2 separate regions of the Homo sapiens genome follow, and region 1 is linked to region 2. The links are contacts of gene promoters, found by promoter capture Hi-C in human tissues and cell types (Jung and others, 2019). All regions are on one chromosome and are shown on one strand. The core of a region is centred on a gene start or on the middle of the fragment in contact, and the rest is flanking DNA. Distances in the headings are between cores, read along the strand shown. Region 1 overlaps LOC105374101 (a long non-coding RNA gene). Region 2 holds the start of EFCC1 (EF-hand and coiled-coil domain containing 1).

Region 1 (7,490 bases), core at 4,849-7,348, 200 kb after region 2:
GCACAGCCAGTACTGCCCTACTGAGTTCAGTGAACTGTCCTTCTGATCTACACTGAGAGAGCCTGGCTGTGGTGCAATGCTCACAGTGAAGCCGTCTGCATAGCTGAGCTAACAATTCAAACTTCAGCTCTCATTTCAATAAATTACCTTATAAAACACTCACTGACCAAGATTACCTTGAGTAGCTTATTTATATGAATTTTGCAGTTACCCCAAATTAGCCATGGAGAAACTGATATACAATGTTTCTTATAATTTCCCCTCAAACCATAGCAAAAACATGAAGGGAAGTACTAGGATTTCTGGGAATATGGAATTTATATCTATGCCCCACAAACAATGTTAAAGAAAACGGGCTTTGGATATTTTCAAAGGCCTGTGGTGAGGATTAAATAAGGCATAATATATGAAAATGTTTTGTGAATTCCAAAATGTTTTACCAAGATAAAAGATTTTTAAAATCAGTTTCTGTCAGTTTCATACATCCAATCCTGAAATCAAGTCTACACTGATTTATTACATATAAGGAAATATTTTTGACGTGAATAGGCAATCATAGAATTTCTATTGTATTCGAATAATGATTGAAAGTAATTTTCTTTTTGAGATTTTGACTTCCCCATTTGAGGTAATATTCTCAAGGGACTAAATGTTACTGATGTTGAAGATTTATCCCAAATGAGGTTTGCTTTGGGTGACAGAATTCAAAGCTAGCTCTGAACAAAACTGAAATGGTGGCTAATACGATCCTTTCTGTGCCTCCCTTTTCTTTCCTTTTGGATACTTCAAATACACAGCTAGTTTCCTTGGGACATCCTAGGGCAGTCAGGGTCATTTCCTTCTCTCTCCAAGACTGACCTGCCACAATCCATCAGGGACTATGATTTTGTTGTAAATATTTAGAAAGATGGTGCACAACAATAGATTTGGCAAAAACTGAGCTGATGGCATGCAAGTGTAGCCAAGTGTGGGAATCCATACTTGGAATAATCTAAAGGAATGTTTAACGGTGGTAAAAGAGAAGTGCAGGAGATGGGGCAGCATTTTCAGGGCCTCTCACCTAATGAAATATTGGCATCTTACAGGCTTGAGGGTCACTTGTCTGATGATTTGTGTGCTAATTCTGTTGGAAGAGAAGATTCTCAAGAAATACACTATTGCCATTAAAAGTAAAACACAAGATTGTTTCCTCCCTTGAATATAGCAAGAACTCTGTAGAGTAATCAATGCTTTGGCCAGATATCCTTGAGAATTAATGTTTTTTAGATTGCAGGGAGAAGAAAAGAGGACAGAAACAAGTTTCTGTTTCATATTCCTTCTGTGTGGTGTTAGAGCAGAAGAACCCTAGGGAGTGCAGGGCTGGGGCCTGGGACATGTGAATGTCTGCACATTGGCAGTTCAGCAAGCTTTTCCTGTTGGCCTGCTATTCCCAGGAGACTGTCTATAGGGCTGCTTGGCAGCAGGTGAGGAAGGTGTGTATGTCTGAAAAATTCAGGATAGACAGACAACATCCCAAGTTTTGAACAACAATCCAACTGTGTGTGTGTGTGTGTGTATGCACCCGCATGTTCACAGCTGCACACAGCACCTTGCACTTCCTTTATTAATAGAAAACTGGAAGAATGATGCAGCAGGATTAAGCCCCAGGGTATTGACTGGGACTCGGGGAGACCTAAGGCACAACTAAAGGGTGGAATTTTTCTTTAATTTCTGTCTCTTTTTTCACATCTCCCTTTCCCCTTCCTTCCTGTTATCTTTCCAGTACTCATAGGTTGTGGTCTCAGCTGAATAAGAACCAGTAAATAACTTCCCATTGAGAAGTTAGGGGACATTGGCCAAGGTCTTAGCATTTCCAGGGTTTCTTCCAAGGGTCTTTCTTGAAGGCCACATTAAATCTCTTGTGGTAGATTTTCTAGAGAAGCCAAGGAGCAGTCTCCTTGAGTTTCCTCACATCAGACCTATAGACCCTTACTCACTTTCTCCTAATACCTACTTTGATATATTTCTTTTTTTCTTTTTTCTTTTTGAGAAGGGTCTCACTTTATCACCCAGGCTGGAGTGGTGCAGTGGCACGATCTTGACTCACTGCAACCTCTACCTCCTGGGTTTAAGTAATTCTCCTGCCTCAGCCTCCCAAGTAGCTGGAATTACAGGCACCCACAACCATGCCCAGCTAATTTTGTTGTTGTTGTTGTTTTGAGACAGAGTTTCGCTCTGTCTCCCAGGCTGGAATGCAGTGGCGTGATCACAGCTCACTGCAACCTCTGCCTCCCAGGTTCAAGTGATTCTCCTGCCTCAGCCTCCTGAGTAGCTGGGACTACAGGTGCCCGCCACCATGCCTGGCTAATTTTTGTACTTTTAGTAGAGGCAGGGTTTCACCATGTTGGCCAGGCTGGTCTCGAACTCCTGACCTCAAGTGATCCGCCCGCCTCGGCCTCCCAAAGTGCTGGGATTACAGGAGTGAGCCCCTGTGCCAAGCAATCTATTTCTATGTGAAGGAGAATACACTGGGTTGTTACACAGGGGCATAAAAGGTGAAATTATATCTTAGGATTCACAGTAGAGAGGAAAAAAAGCTAACTCTGCCAACTAAAATTATAGAAGGTCTTGAAAACAAATCTCATCATTTCATGAAAACAAATCTCATCATTTCATTATATGTTTCTAAATTGCAGGCTGGGTGCAGTGGCTCACGCCTGTAATCCCAGCACTTTGGGAGGCTGAGGTAAGATCACTTGAGGCCAGGAGTTTTGAGACTAGACTGGGCAACAAAGTGAGACCCCTGTCTCTACAAAAAAATTAAAAAATAAAAATTAGCCGAGTGTGGTGGCACATACCTAGAGTACTCTAGCCTGGGTGACAGAGCAAGACTGTCCCTAAAATAAAATAAATTAAGAGCAGACTCTACAGGCTCAGAGTAGACAAGGTCCTGGTATCTAATAGCGTACTTGGCACATGGGCCTTCAATGAACTATTTTTTTTTTTTTTTAGATGGAGTCTCGCTCTGTTGCCCAGGCTGGAGCACAGTAGTGCAATCTCGGCTCACTAAAAGCTCCGCCTCCCGGGTTCATGCCATTCTCCTGCCTCAGCCTCCCGAGTAGCTGGGACTACAGGCACCCGCCACCACGCCTGGCTAATTTTTTTTTTCAGTGGAGACGGCATTTCACCGTGTTAGCCAGGATTGTTTCGATCTCCTGACCTCGTGATCCGCCCACCTTGGCCTCCCAAAGTGCTGGGATTACAGACGTGAGCCACCGCGCCCAGCCAATGAACTATTATTGAATGAATACCTCATTTTCCCTCTTGGCATCACACCTGAGATTGCCTGATTTGTACGTTGTCCTCAGAGCCAGCATTTATTACATTGCATTTGAGAGTCGCTAAGACAAGGCATTTTCCACACGCTTTTCCTGTTTTTTAAGTACCTTCCAACCTTGATTTGCTGATAACAGCAGTTGGCTTGTATTTTATGCTGGCCTTTGCAATGATACAGCAAATGGAATCTGGAATCTCCGGAATCGATGTCAATATGAATAGTTTCTAAGTGGAACTGCCATACAATGAGGAAGTTATCACTTACCCACAAGAGGTCTGTGACTTTGGAATCAAGTATATATAAGAAGTACTTTTTACACTGTAATGTGCTACTCAAATGTTTTGTTGTTATTATTATATCAGAAAACAACCCACAGGACCTTATAAATAATAATGATTCCAGTCATGTTCATCCTATGTGACAAAGCAATGGTTCTCAACATTTTTGGTCAGCTAATCACTTTGGCAAAATATCTCAAAACTTCGTATCTCAATTACCCATACTACTCAGTCCAAGAGTTTTGCCAGAATAAATAGGAAGAGTAGAGCTACTTTTAATTTCTGGTTTCCATTAGCCTTCTGCTGGGAAAGAGAAAAGAGATAGAGTAGAAAAGAGTTTCAAGTACAAGGGTCCATGACCTCCAAAGTCAACTACGTTGAGATTCTTGATGGTGAAGCAACAAGACAAGAAGCCAGGCTAAACATTGGCGACCCAGAAAAGGAGATAGAAAGGCCAGAGAATGCAAGACCTGCCACCCCGTGCCTGCTTTCACCTCCTCATCTGTACTTGCTGGTGTTTCTTTTTTTTTTTTTTTTTTGAGATGGAGTCTCGCATTGTCGCCCAGGCTGAAGTGCACTGGTGTGATCTCGGCTCACTGCAAGCTCCGCCTCCTGGGTTCACGCCATTCTCCTGCCTCAGCCTCCCGAGTAGCTGGGACTACAGGCATGAGCCACCACGCCTGGCTAATTTTTGTACTTTTAGTAGAGGCAGGGTTTCACCATGTTGGCCAGGCTGGTCTCGAACTCCTGACCTCAAGTGATCCGCCCGCCTCGGCCTCCCAAAGTGCTGGGATTACAGGCATGAGCCACCGTGCCCGGCCACTTGCTGGTGATTCTGAAGGATCTGTCCTTTGCGGTGTCCCTCCTTGCTCTCCAGAATCTTCGCTTCAACTCCCATCTAAGATGAAAGGAGCCAACTAAGCTCACTTCGGGGCAGCTGGTCATTGCCTTTAGGGAACACGAGATTAGCGTTGCCAGATATCTGACCTTTTGGCAGAAGTTAAAATTCTTGATATTTTTGAGAATCTTCTAATTTTCAACTGTTGGCAACTTATTTAAAAGATTGTTCTGGCCAAATGAAACCCATTAGCAGGATGGATTTTGCCCACAGACCACTGGTGACTGATGACACATTTTCAAGCTTTACCCCTCACGTCTTTCTCTCTCGTTTTTTTTTTTTTGTTTGTTTGTTTGTTTTAAGATGGAGTTTCACTCTTGTTGCTCAGGCTGGAGTGCAATGGCACAATCTCGGGTCACTGCAAACTCCGCCTCCCAGGATCAAGCAATTCTCCTGCCTCAGCCTCCCAAATAGCTGGGATTACAGGCATGTGCCACCACGCCCAGCTAATTTTGTATTTTTTTTTTTTAGTAGAGATGGGGTTTCACCATGTTGGCCAGGCTGGTTTCTAACTCCTGACCTCAGATAATCCACCCGCTTTGGCCTCCCAAAGTGCTGGGATTACAGGTGTGAGCCACCACACCCAGCCCTCACCTCCTTTTTGAATTTGGGACTTGTATCTTTACTTAAAATTTGGATAGATTAAACCGGGCATTTCCACACACTGTTCAAATACAACTCATTTAAACTACAATGTACTTTACCAAATATACAAACAAGCAAACAAAACCAGCTTATCATTTTAAAGTCTGTGTCAGCCACCACTCATCTGTTAGTCCAGATTAGAAGCCTTGGAGTCATCTGTGGTCCTTCTCTCTACTTTGTCTCTCACCTGCAATTCCTTCCTTAAGCACCAAATGCCAGGTATTAAGCTAAACACTGAGGATACAAAGCTTAGCCAGTGGTGGTGTGGGTGCTTGTACTCCCAGCTTACTTAGGAGGCCAAGGCAGGAGGATTGCTTGAGCCCAACAGGTCAAGTCTGCAGTGACCCATGATCGTGCCACTGCACTCCAGCCTGGACAACAGAGTGAAACCCTGTCTCTAAAAAGTAAAATATAAAAATAAAACTAAAGTTGAAAAGACAGCCCAGGCCAGGCTCTGCAGCTGTTAATGTCTATGGGTAGAAGGCAACAAGTATTTACAAAACAGTATTTACCAAGTATTATAACAGACATATACAAAATGCCACATGATCTTGTTTAATCCACACAATAATCTTGTGAAATAGTGTCTTTTTAATAACAGCTTTATTGAGATATAATTGACATACCATAAAAGCCACCCTTTTAAAATGTACAATTCAGTAGGTTTTAGTACATTCATAGTGCCATGACATCAAATTAGTTGTTATCACTAATTCCAGAACATTGGGTTTTTTAAAAATTTTGATAGAGATGAAGTTTCACTGTGTTGCTCAGGCTGGTCTCAAACTCCTGAGTAAAGTGATGCAAAGTGCCTTGGCCTCCCAAAGTGCTGAGATTACAGGTGTGAGCCATGGTGGCCAGCCCAGAACATTGTTTTGAGCAGTTTTAAGTTCATAGCAAAATTGAGCAGAAAGTACAGAGTTCCCATTCATTCCCTGCCCCCACACATGCATAAACAAGGATCAGCATCTCCACTAGAGTGATAGATTTGTTACAATCAATGAACTTTCACTGATTCATCATTACCCCCAAAAGTTCATAATTTACATTAGGGTTCACTCTTGGTGCCATACATTATATGGGTTTGGACAAAAGTATAACGATATGTATCCACTTTTGTAGTATCATACAGAGTGGTTGTCACTGCCCCCAAAATCTCTGTGCTCTGCCTATTCATCACTCTCTCCTAATCCTTGGCAACCTGGACTTCTCCGTATTTTTGCTTTTCCAGACTGTTATGTACAGTATTTGGAATCACACAGTATGTAGCCTTTTCAGATTGGCATCTTTCACTTAGTGATACGCGTTTATGGGTCCTCCATGTCTTTTCATGTCTTGATAGTTCATTTTTTAGTGCTGAATGCTATTCCATTGTCTGAATGTACTACAGTTTATCCATTCACCTGCTGAAGGACATCTTGGTGGCTTCCAAGTTTTGACAATCATGAATAAAGCTGGTATAAGCATCTGTGTGCAGGTTTTTTGTGGACATATTTTCAGTTCATTTGGTTAAATAACCACAAAGCAAATTGCTGGTTCATATGGTAGGAGTATATTTAATTTTTGTAAGAAACTGCCAAATTGTCTTCCAAAGTGTCTGTACCATTTGCCCTTCCCCTGAGCAATGAATGAGAGTTCCTGTTGCTCAACATCCTTGTCAGCATTTGATATTGTCAGTGTTTTAGATTTTGGCCATTCTAATAGATGTGTAATAGTATCTCATTTTTGTTTTAATTTGCAATTCCCTAAGGGCATATGATATATAGTTTGGATATTTGTCGCCACTCAAATCTCATGTTGAAATGTAATCCCTAATGTTGGAGGTGGGGCCTGGTGGAGGGGTTTGGGTCATGGGGCAGATCCCTCATGGCTTGGTGCTGTCCTTGCAATGGTGAGTGAGTTATCATAAGATTGGTTGTTTAAGCGTGTGGCACCTTCCCCCTACACTGTCTTGCTCCTGCCTTCACCATGTGATGATGTGCCTGCTCCTGCTTCACCTTCCATCATGAGTGAAAGCTCCCCGAGGCCTCCCCAGAAGCTGATAAGATAGATGCTGGTGCCATGCTTGTACAGCCTACAGAACTGTGAGAAATTAAACCTCTTTTCTCAATAAAATACCCAGTCTCAGGTATTTCTTTTCTTTCTTTTTTTTTTTTTTTTGAGATGGAGTCTCACTCTGTCGTCCAGGCTGGAGTGTGGTGGCGCAATGTTGGCTCACTGCAACCTTCACCTCCCAGGGTCAAGTGATTCTCCTGCCTCAGCCTCCCAAGTAGCTGGGATTACAAGTGCATGCCACCATGCCCAGCTAATTTTTGTATTATTAATAAAGATGGGGTTTCACCATGTTGGCCAG
Region 2 (7,486 bases), core at 1,447-3,946:
TATGGCACAAACTGTTCACAGTATGGTTTTTGCGGAGAAAAGCTGAAAACCACCTCAGTGGGCATCTGTGGGGGATGACAAAGCACCTTATAGTTCATCCCCAGGGAGCACAGAGCAGCCTCTGGAGCAGTGTCTGCAAAGAAACCACAGCCAAGCTGTTTACAAAGCTCAGTTCCTGTGCAAAGAAAGATCCCAATGGCGCCCTTTCCACTGTGCTTTTCATGTCAAGTTGAATGAGCTACGATTTGCACACTGTAAAATTCAGATGTACACAGTCATGCAACCACTACACCATGAAGATAGAGTATTTCAATCACTCCAAAAAGTTCTTTCATGCCCAAATACATAGAAAAGTCTGGAAATAAATACATCAGAAATACACAGTGATCCTCTCTTGGTGGCAGAATGGTGGATGATTTTTGCTTTTTAGCATTTTCCCGGACCTTTAAAAGACACTTTAAACAATATACTATTTGAAATGGCTCAAACAATACTGAACTGACTTCAGAAAATCATTTCTTTGCCACAGCCCTGACTCTCTCCCACACAGACACACGCCCATCCCCCCAGCTCATACAAAAGAACGCAAGGAGACCTCTGAGTTTGCTCACTTTGAACCTTAAACAAAAACCTTGTGGATGCAACCAGAATTATTTCAGAGGTGCCTGGTAACACCGCAGGGCAGACAGACAGGCCTGACAGCAAACCATTATCAACCCTTACTTCCCTGAGCTGTAGGGGAGTGGAGGCCGGCAACGGCTCCCAGCAAGACATTTAAAAGCTTTCTTTTCAATATTGACTGGCCCAGGAAAGCTACTGTTCAAAGGATTCCTTCACCAGCTGCAGGGATGGGGGGTGGGGAGGGTGTTGCACTCTTGCCTGGGCTACCAGCTCTTAGGGCTGACATGAAATAAAATCAGGTTCTTTTTTTTTTTTTTTTTTTTTTTTTGAGACGGAGTCTCGCTCTGTCGCCCAGGCTGGAGTGCAATGGCAGGATCTCAGCTTACTGCAACCTCCGCCTCCCAGGTTCAAGCGATTCATCTGCCTCAGCCTCCCAAGTAACTGGGATTACAGGCGCCTGCCACCACGCCCAGCTAACTTTTGGTATTTTTAGTAGAGATGGGGGTGGTTCACTATGTTGTCCAGGCTGTTCTCGAACTCTTGACCTCAGGCAATCCACCCGCCTCGGCCTCCCAAAGTGGTGGGATTACAGGCGTGAGCCACCGCGACCGGCCAAGAAAAAGAAACACATGAGAACATCTTAACAAAAGGGAAATACTGCAGTGTCTCCCATCTGCAGAAAGAACCACTGAATCCACTTATGAATCCCTCCATCTTCTTCTGTGCACTCACATACACATGTCCTAGTAGAAAATACTTAGTATTGTTTTGTGTGTTTTTGTTCTTGTTATGTAAGCATCAGTGTTGTGCATAATCAGCTTGTGGCTTGCTGTGTCCGCTCATCCTCGTTTGCTGAGTCCTAGCTGATTTGATGGACACCAGGTTGTCTCCAGTTTCTCACTGTAATAAACAATGATGCAGTGAACATCCTGTGCACAGTGGCTTTCGAAGGTAGAAGCCAAGAAGTGGACGTGATGTAAAAACTTTGTCAAATTGCCATTACTTTTATAATTAAAAACAAACCTAAAAGAATATGTCCAAAATGCTTGGGGAGAAGCCTCTAACTCCTTCCCAGCAGATATGTACTCTGGGCAAAGCCTTCAAGAACAAGTACGAATTTGCCAAATGGACAACGTGCTGATTCTGGGATACTGTGGCAGAGGAGACAGAATGCTATCGCTTTTCAAACGGCAAGATTTTACATTTAAACTCACAGAGTTATCCACAAGGCAAGATTCTGTCTCTGTCATAGCTAGGAACAGCTGAAGAGTCTGCCTCTTGCTCCAACATGGCTGGGTACCGTGGCTGGATAACCGTTCCCGGTGCAGGTAACAGGTGGACAATATCACAATATCACTGCACCCCTCTCGTGAAAAAGAAAGGGAACACAGTCTAGCACTCACCAGAGAAGCAGGTTTTTCTTCATCTTCCAGAAATGTGTTCTAAAACACCAGAAAAAAACATCAGCCAATCATCGACCTGTTAACCTAACCCCAGCTCAAGAGATGGAACTCGGATCCCATTGCCAAGTCAGCACCGGCAGGCACAAAGGTGGCAGGGCCGGGAGACACCACTTTCCCGAGAGTCCTATCCCCACCCCCAACAGGGATCGGGAGAGAGCAGTTAGCACAGGGCTCGTCTCAGATGGGCTTCTCACCAGCGGGGTGCCCCTAACCTAGACCCCTTGCCTCTCCAAGCCTGTTTCCCTCTCTTTCCCAGTTACTACTTGGGGCTCTTTGCACGGTCTATGGTGGCACAAGAAGTGGGTTCGGAAACCCAGTAGCTGAATTGAAGCGGAGGGGAGGCTTTTCCGCACCTACGGCTACAGGGCGGCGAGAGCAGGCTTGCCAGGCAACCCTCGAAAGGCCTTCCGGGAAGAGGGGGAAGAGTGACGCTTGGGTGTGGGGGCACATCCCCAGCAACCGGACGAGGCCGCCACCCCCAAGGCCCTCCTGGGCTTCGGATCCCGCGCCAACCCCTCGCCCAGGTCTCGGAGCGAACTCTCCGCGCCAGGCGGGCGGGGCGGAGGGAGGAGGGAGTTGAGAGTGGACGGCCGGGAGTGGGAGGAAAAGCGCAGACGCCAGGAACGCCCCGTGAGTGAGGAGAGGAGAGCGTGGGAGTCACGCGGAGAAGCCAGACCCAGACGCCGACCGGGCACTGGTGGCGCTGCCGGGGTCCCGGGGGTTCCTGGACCCCCTACCCCAGGCCCCTCCAAAGCAACTGGGGTAAACCAGACGCACTGTGAGGCCAGCGCAGCTGCTGGACACGGTCCCCGGCGCCGCTCCAACCAGACCGCGACCGCTAAGCCCCTCCTTTCGAGAAACTCTGGGGCCGCCCCTGGAAGTGGCGGGGCGAAGGGACCGGAGGAGGGACCGGAGGAGCGAGGCGCGCGGCGCAGCGATGGAGCCGGTCAGCACGGGCGCGGAGGCCGGCATGGAGGGCGCGGGAGGTGACCCGTACCGGCGACCTGCGCGGCGCACGCAGTGGCTGCTGAGCGCCCTGGCGCACCACTACGGGCTGGACCGCGGCGTGGAGAACGAGATCGTGGTGCTGGCCACCGGCCTGGACCAGTACCTGCAGGAGGTCTTCCACCACCTGGACTGCCGCGGCGCCGGCCGTCTGCCCCGCGCCGACTTCCGAGCGCTCTGCGCTGTGCTGGGGCTGCGCGCGGAGGGGGCCACCACGGCCGGGCAGGCAGCAGGTGACGGGAACTCCAGAGATGTGACCCCCGGGGATGCGGCCGCTGAGTTGGCCACGGACGGGGACTCAGATACCGATGAAGAGGCGCGCCTGGCGCTGCGCGCCGAGCCGCCGGAGCTCACCTTCCGCCAGTTCCACGCGCGCCTCTGTGGCTACTTCGGCACCCGTGCGGGGCCCCGGCTGCCCCGCGGCGCTCTCAGCGAGCACATCGAGACGCAGATCCGCCTGCGCCGTCCGCGCCGCCGCCGCCGCCCGCCCTGCGCGCCTGGCCCCGACAGCGGTCCTGACTGTGAGCGCGTTGCGCGGCTGGAGGAGGAGAATAGCAGCTTGCGCGAGTTGGTGGAGGACCTGCGCGCCGCGCTGCAGAGCAGTGATGCGCGCTGCCTAGCACTGCAGGTGCGCGCCGGCCACGAAGGGAGGGTGGTAACGCCCGGGAGAGGGCTCGAACTAAAAGCTGGCTGGCTGCGGAGCCCGACAGGACAGAGTCAGAGGAAGGGGAGACAGAGGGCAGCCCCACACCATCCCACTCCGCATCAGCACACTTGCATCTTGCCCCTGTTCCTCCCCATTCCACTCCAGTCCCCAACCCTATTCTTACCACCTATTCCATTCCTGAAAACCCCAATCACACTCAAACAACCATACCCCACTTTTCTGCTCCACCGCCACATCATCGCGTCTTGCCCCTTTAACCTAGGAATTGCACCTGTCTGGGTAGTCTCACATATTCCCTTTCAACAAGCATCTTTCTCTCTCCTTCCTGCCAGGCTTCTGGGAGGTTTAGGAGACAGAAGTGTGAAGAAGGCCCTGTCCTCACCTTTAGGGATATCCCTGCCTCCTGGGGTAGACTGACAGCTCCTTCTGTCAATCAGCAAAGACTTATGGGGCTCCCTGTGGGAGAAACAGAGACAAGTGAGAAACAGACAATGTGGCTCACACTGTGGATCAGGCACTCACGGGCCACCAAGTGCCTGCGGGAACCAGACCCGCTCTGGGCTATTGAGAAGAAACCATGGGGTGAGATAGGGACCCAGCCTTAGCATCTGGGAGCCGTCGACAAACACTTAAGCACTGTGCCAGCCGAGCACCAAGGGCAGTGCTGGGCCGCAGGGGTCAGAGGAGGAAAGGAACAGCCCCTACCCCAGGCGACAACAGGCCAGGAAGAAACTGACATTATATGACCCCGCCTTAGCTCAGGACACTGCAGAGTGCAGGGAAGTGGCAAGGTGTGGTTTTCAGTGTCAGTGTGCATGGAAGCCAGGGTGGAGGCGGGAAACTACTCCTCTGATGTGGAATCCCAAGTAACGTACTGGGAGCCATGGGATGCGCCTGAACGGTCTTCCGGCATCTCTCATGCTTGGTATTTATTGAGCACCTACTATGTGCCAGGTTTGTTTTAGGCTCTGGGAACACACCAGTAAAGACAGATAGAAACCACCCTCAAAAGCCTCTAGTGAGCAGGCACGGGGAGGGCTGGAAATGCCACTGGGGGGAGTCTAGGAGATGAGGAACCGCCACCCGGCAGGCTGAACGCCGCCAATACAGTAGGCCGAGAAGAGTCGCGAGGTTGGTACTATAGAGGGAACAGAATACAGGCGTCGTGTCTCAGTTTCCTTCAGTGAAAAAACGTTGGGGGGTGGGGGATGAGGAGGAATCAGAGCTTGGGCCTCCCTGGGGATGTGGCGAGGGTTAAAGGAGCTTGGACGCACCGGACCTAAGGGCCTGGCACCCGGAAGCAGACGGCGCAAGAAACGTGCTCAAGCGCTTCTGGGTGCAGAGGCATGGGGCCGCCGTCGTGGCGGGCGTTCGTCTGGTGCATCTGGCTGGGGCACTTACCCCCTGCCCCTGCTGCCCTGTCCCCGCAGGTCGGACTCTGGAAGAGCCAGGCGAGCACCCACGAGATGGGGCACGGCGGGCCGGAGGCTGCGGTGCGGGAGCTGCGTCAGGCGCAGGGCGCCCTGGCTGCGGCGGAGGCCCGCGCTGGGCGGCTGCGCCGTGGCCAGGCCGAGGTGCGGCGGCGCGCGGAGGAGGCCCGGCAGGTGGTGCTGCGCAGCCTGCACCGCGTGCGAGAGCTGGAGGCGCTGGCGCAACAGGTGCCCGGCTTGCAGCGCTGGGTGCGGCGGCTGGAGGCGGAGCTGCAACGCTACAGGTGAGCGGGGGCGCGTGCCCTGGGCCCAAGTTCCCCAATTCGGCTCCCATTTTCCCAAACTTCGGGTGTGCAATCCCCCTCCCACGCGCTCTCGTGTTCCGCAGTTTCTCCATGCGTTTATTCATGTATTCTTTCATTCCTTTGTCAGTTCTCCATTTCTTAAGTTATAAGTCTGCTCCATTGCTTGCTCTGCAACCATCTGCCCACCCATCCATTTATCCATCCATCTGTCCATCCATTCACCCACCCCACACACCCACCCATCCATCCATCCATTTGTCCATTCACTCACCCCCCCCACCCACCCATCCATCCACTCACCCATCCATCCACTCACCCATTCATCCATCCACCTATCCACTCACCTACCCACCCGTCCATCCATCTATTCATCCATCCACTCACTCACCCACCCATCCACTCACCCACCCACCCATCCATCATCCATCCATCCCCCCACCCACCCAGCCAGCCAGCCGTCCATCCATCCTCCTGTTCATCCACAAACACCCTCTATTTGTTTATCATAGATTGCAGTTGAATGTGCTCATTCTTATTTGTTCCTGGATTCGATCATAATGATAATAGCTTACAGTTACTAAGCACTCGCTGTTTGCCAGGCCTTGAGCTAAGTACTTTATGTGGCTTAACTCATTTAAGCCTCACAGCTGCCCTGTGAGGTGGGTACTGCTATGTTTCCACTCTGTAGATGAGGAAACAGGTGTGTAATGACTGCCTGTGCTAGCTCCACCAGGGCAGGAAGCTGGACTTGGGACCCAGGTTCAAATCTTGGCAGGGCTTTTGGCAGACGTGTGAGTGTGGGCAAGTCACCACCCCTCACAGACCCTGCTTCCTCTTGGGTGGAACACAGATTGGGGTCCCTGCCTGTGGGAGTGGCTGTGAAGAGGCCATGAGGTCCTGCCTGGCACATGGTAGATGCTTGGTAGACAGAGCCTCTCTCCCTTTCAAATCACAAGTCACCCCTGCCTGCTGGCCGGCCTGACTACACATTTGCTGAGCACTTTCTGTGTGCCAGGGGCCATCCCAGGCATCAGGGATGTGACCACGTGACTAGGACAGACTGAATTCCCTGCCCTGAGCAGCCACCTGTGAGCAGGTGAGACCTTCACAGGAACAGATGCGTGGCAGCAGGCAGGAGGTGGGGGACACTCATCAGCCTGCCCCCAAAGAAGTGACACTTGAGGATAGGATGTTACCGGGCCAGATGGAGAGAGGAGAAGAGAGAACATTCCATTCTAGAAAATTGGAACAGTACGGGCAAAGCCCTAGGGCAGAAGGGACCATTCAAAAACTAAAAGGAGGCCAGAGTGGCTGGAGGGGTAGAGCTGAAGGGAGGCCCATTTAGGGCCTGGAAGGTGGCAGCAAGGATTTCAGTTTTTCCCTTAAGAGAAAGAACATGAAACCATGGAAAAGTTTTAAGTAAGGAGGTGACAGAAGCAGATTTCAATAAAAAGTTACCCTGGCTACAATGTGACAAAGAGATGGGCAGATGGGGAGAGCAGGAGACAGTGCAGAGCCCAGTGAGGGGCTCCTGCCATCCCTGATCCTGAGAGGAAGGTGGTCTAGCCCAGGCTGGGGGTGGAGCAGCCAGAAGGGGTGGCCTTGAACCTACTGGACATCTGAGAAGCTCACAGCTGGGAGATGGTAAGGCATGGGGCTAGAGGGAGGCCTCCAAAGAGGCAGACTCTGGGCCAGCCTCCTGCAGCATGCAGTGTTTGGAGAGCCACTTCCTGTTTGCATAGCTGATGGCTAAAGAGCAGGGCTGGTTGGCTTGAGGCCCACATCCAGCCTTGGAACTTTATCCAAGAGGAGAAATAAAGGGGCTCTTCTTTGTTTATTTCTAAAATCACAACTAGTCCTCTATAGCAGAATGCTACAAGTGACTACAAACATTGGCATAGCCCTTTACAATAGAAAAAGTGGATTCATAGCCAATGCACCATTTAGTCCCCATAAGGTTGTACAAGGTAGATGTTTTATCCCCAGTTTACAGAT

The links. Contacts are between HindIII fragments. The study calls those that stand out against the background at their distance.
Region 1: a contact is called between a fragment that was not itself captured here and the fragment with the promoter of EFCC1 in region 2, in 2 of the 25 tissues and cell types used here (IMR-90 fibroblasts and liver).

The regions. Positions count from the first base shown.
Region 1 is chr3:129,196,147-129,203,636 of GRCh38, forward strand. LOC105374101 (a long non-coding RNA gene) reads left to right here. Exons shown (of 2, transcript XR_924469.3): 2 at 1-158. Among named protein-coding and RNA genes, the nearest start is that of CNBP, 16 kb to the left of the region's middle. The HindIII fragment of the contact is 6,057 bases long and covers 3,071-7,490 here.
Region 2 is chr3:128,998,608-129,006,093 of GRCh38, forward strand. EFCC1 (EF-hand and coiled-coil domain containing 1) reads left to right here and starts at 2,697. Exons shown (of 8, transcript NM_001377500.1): 1 at 2,697-3,717; 2 at 5,187-5,470. The coding sequence starts at 3,022. It also overlaps a transcript of CFAP92 not described here. The HindIII fragment of the contact is 14,506 bases long and covers 368-7,486 here.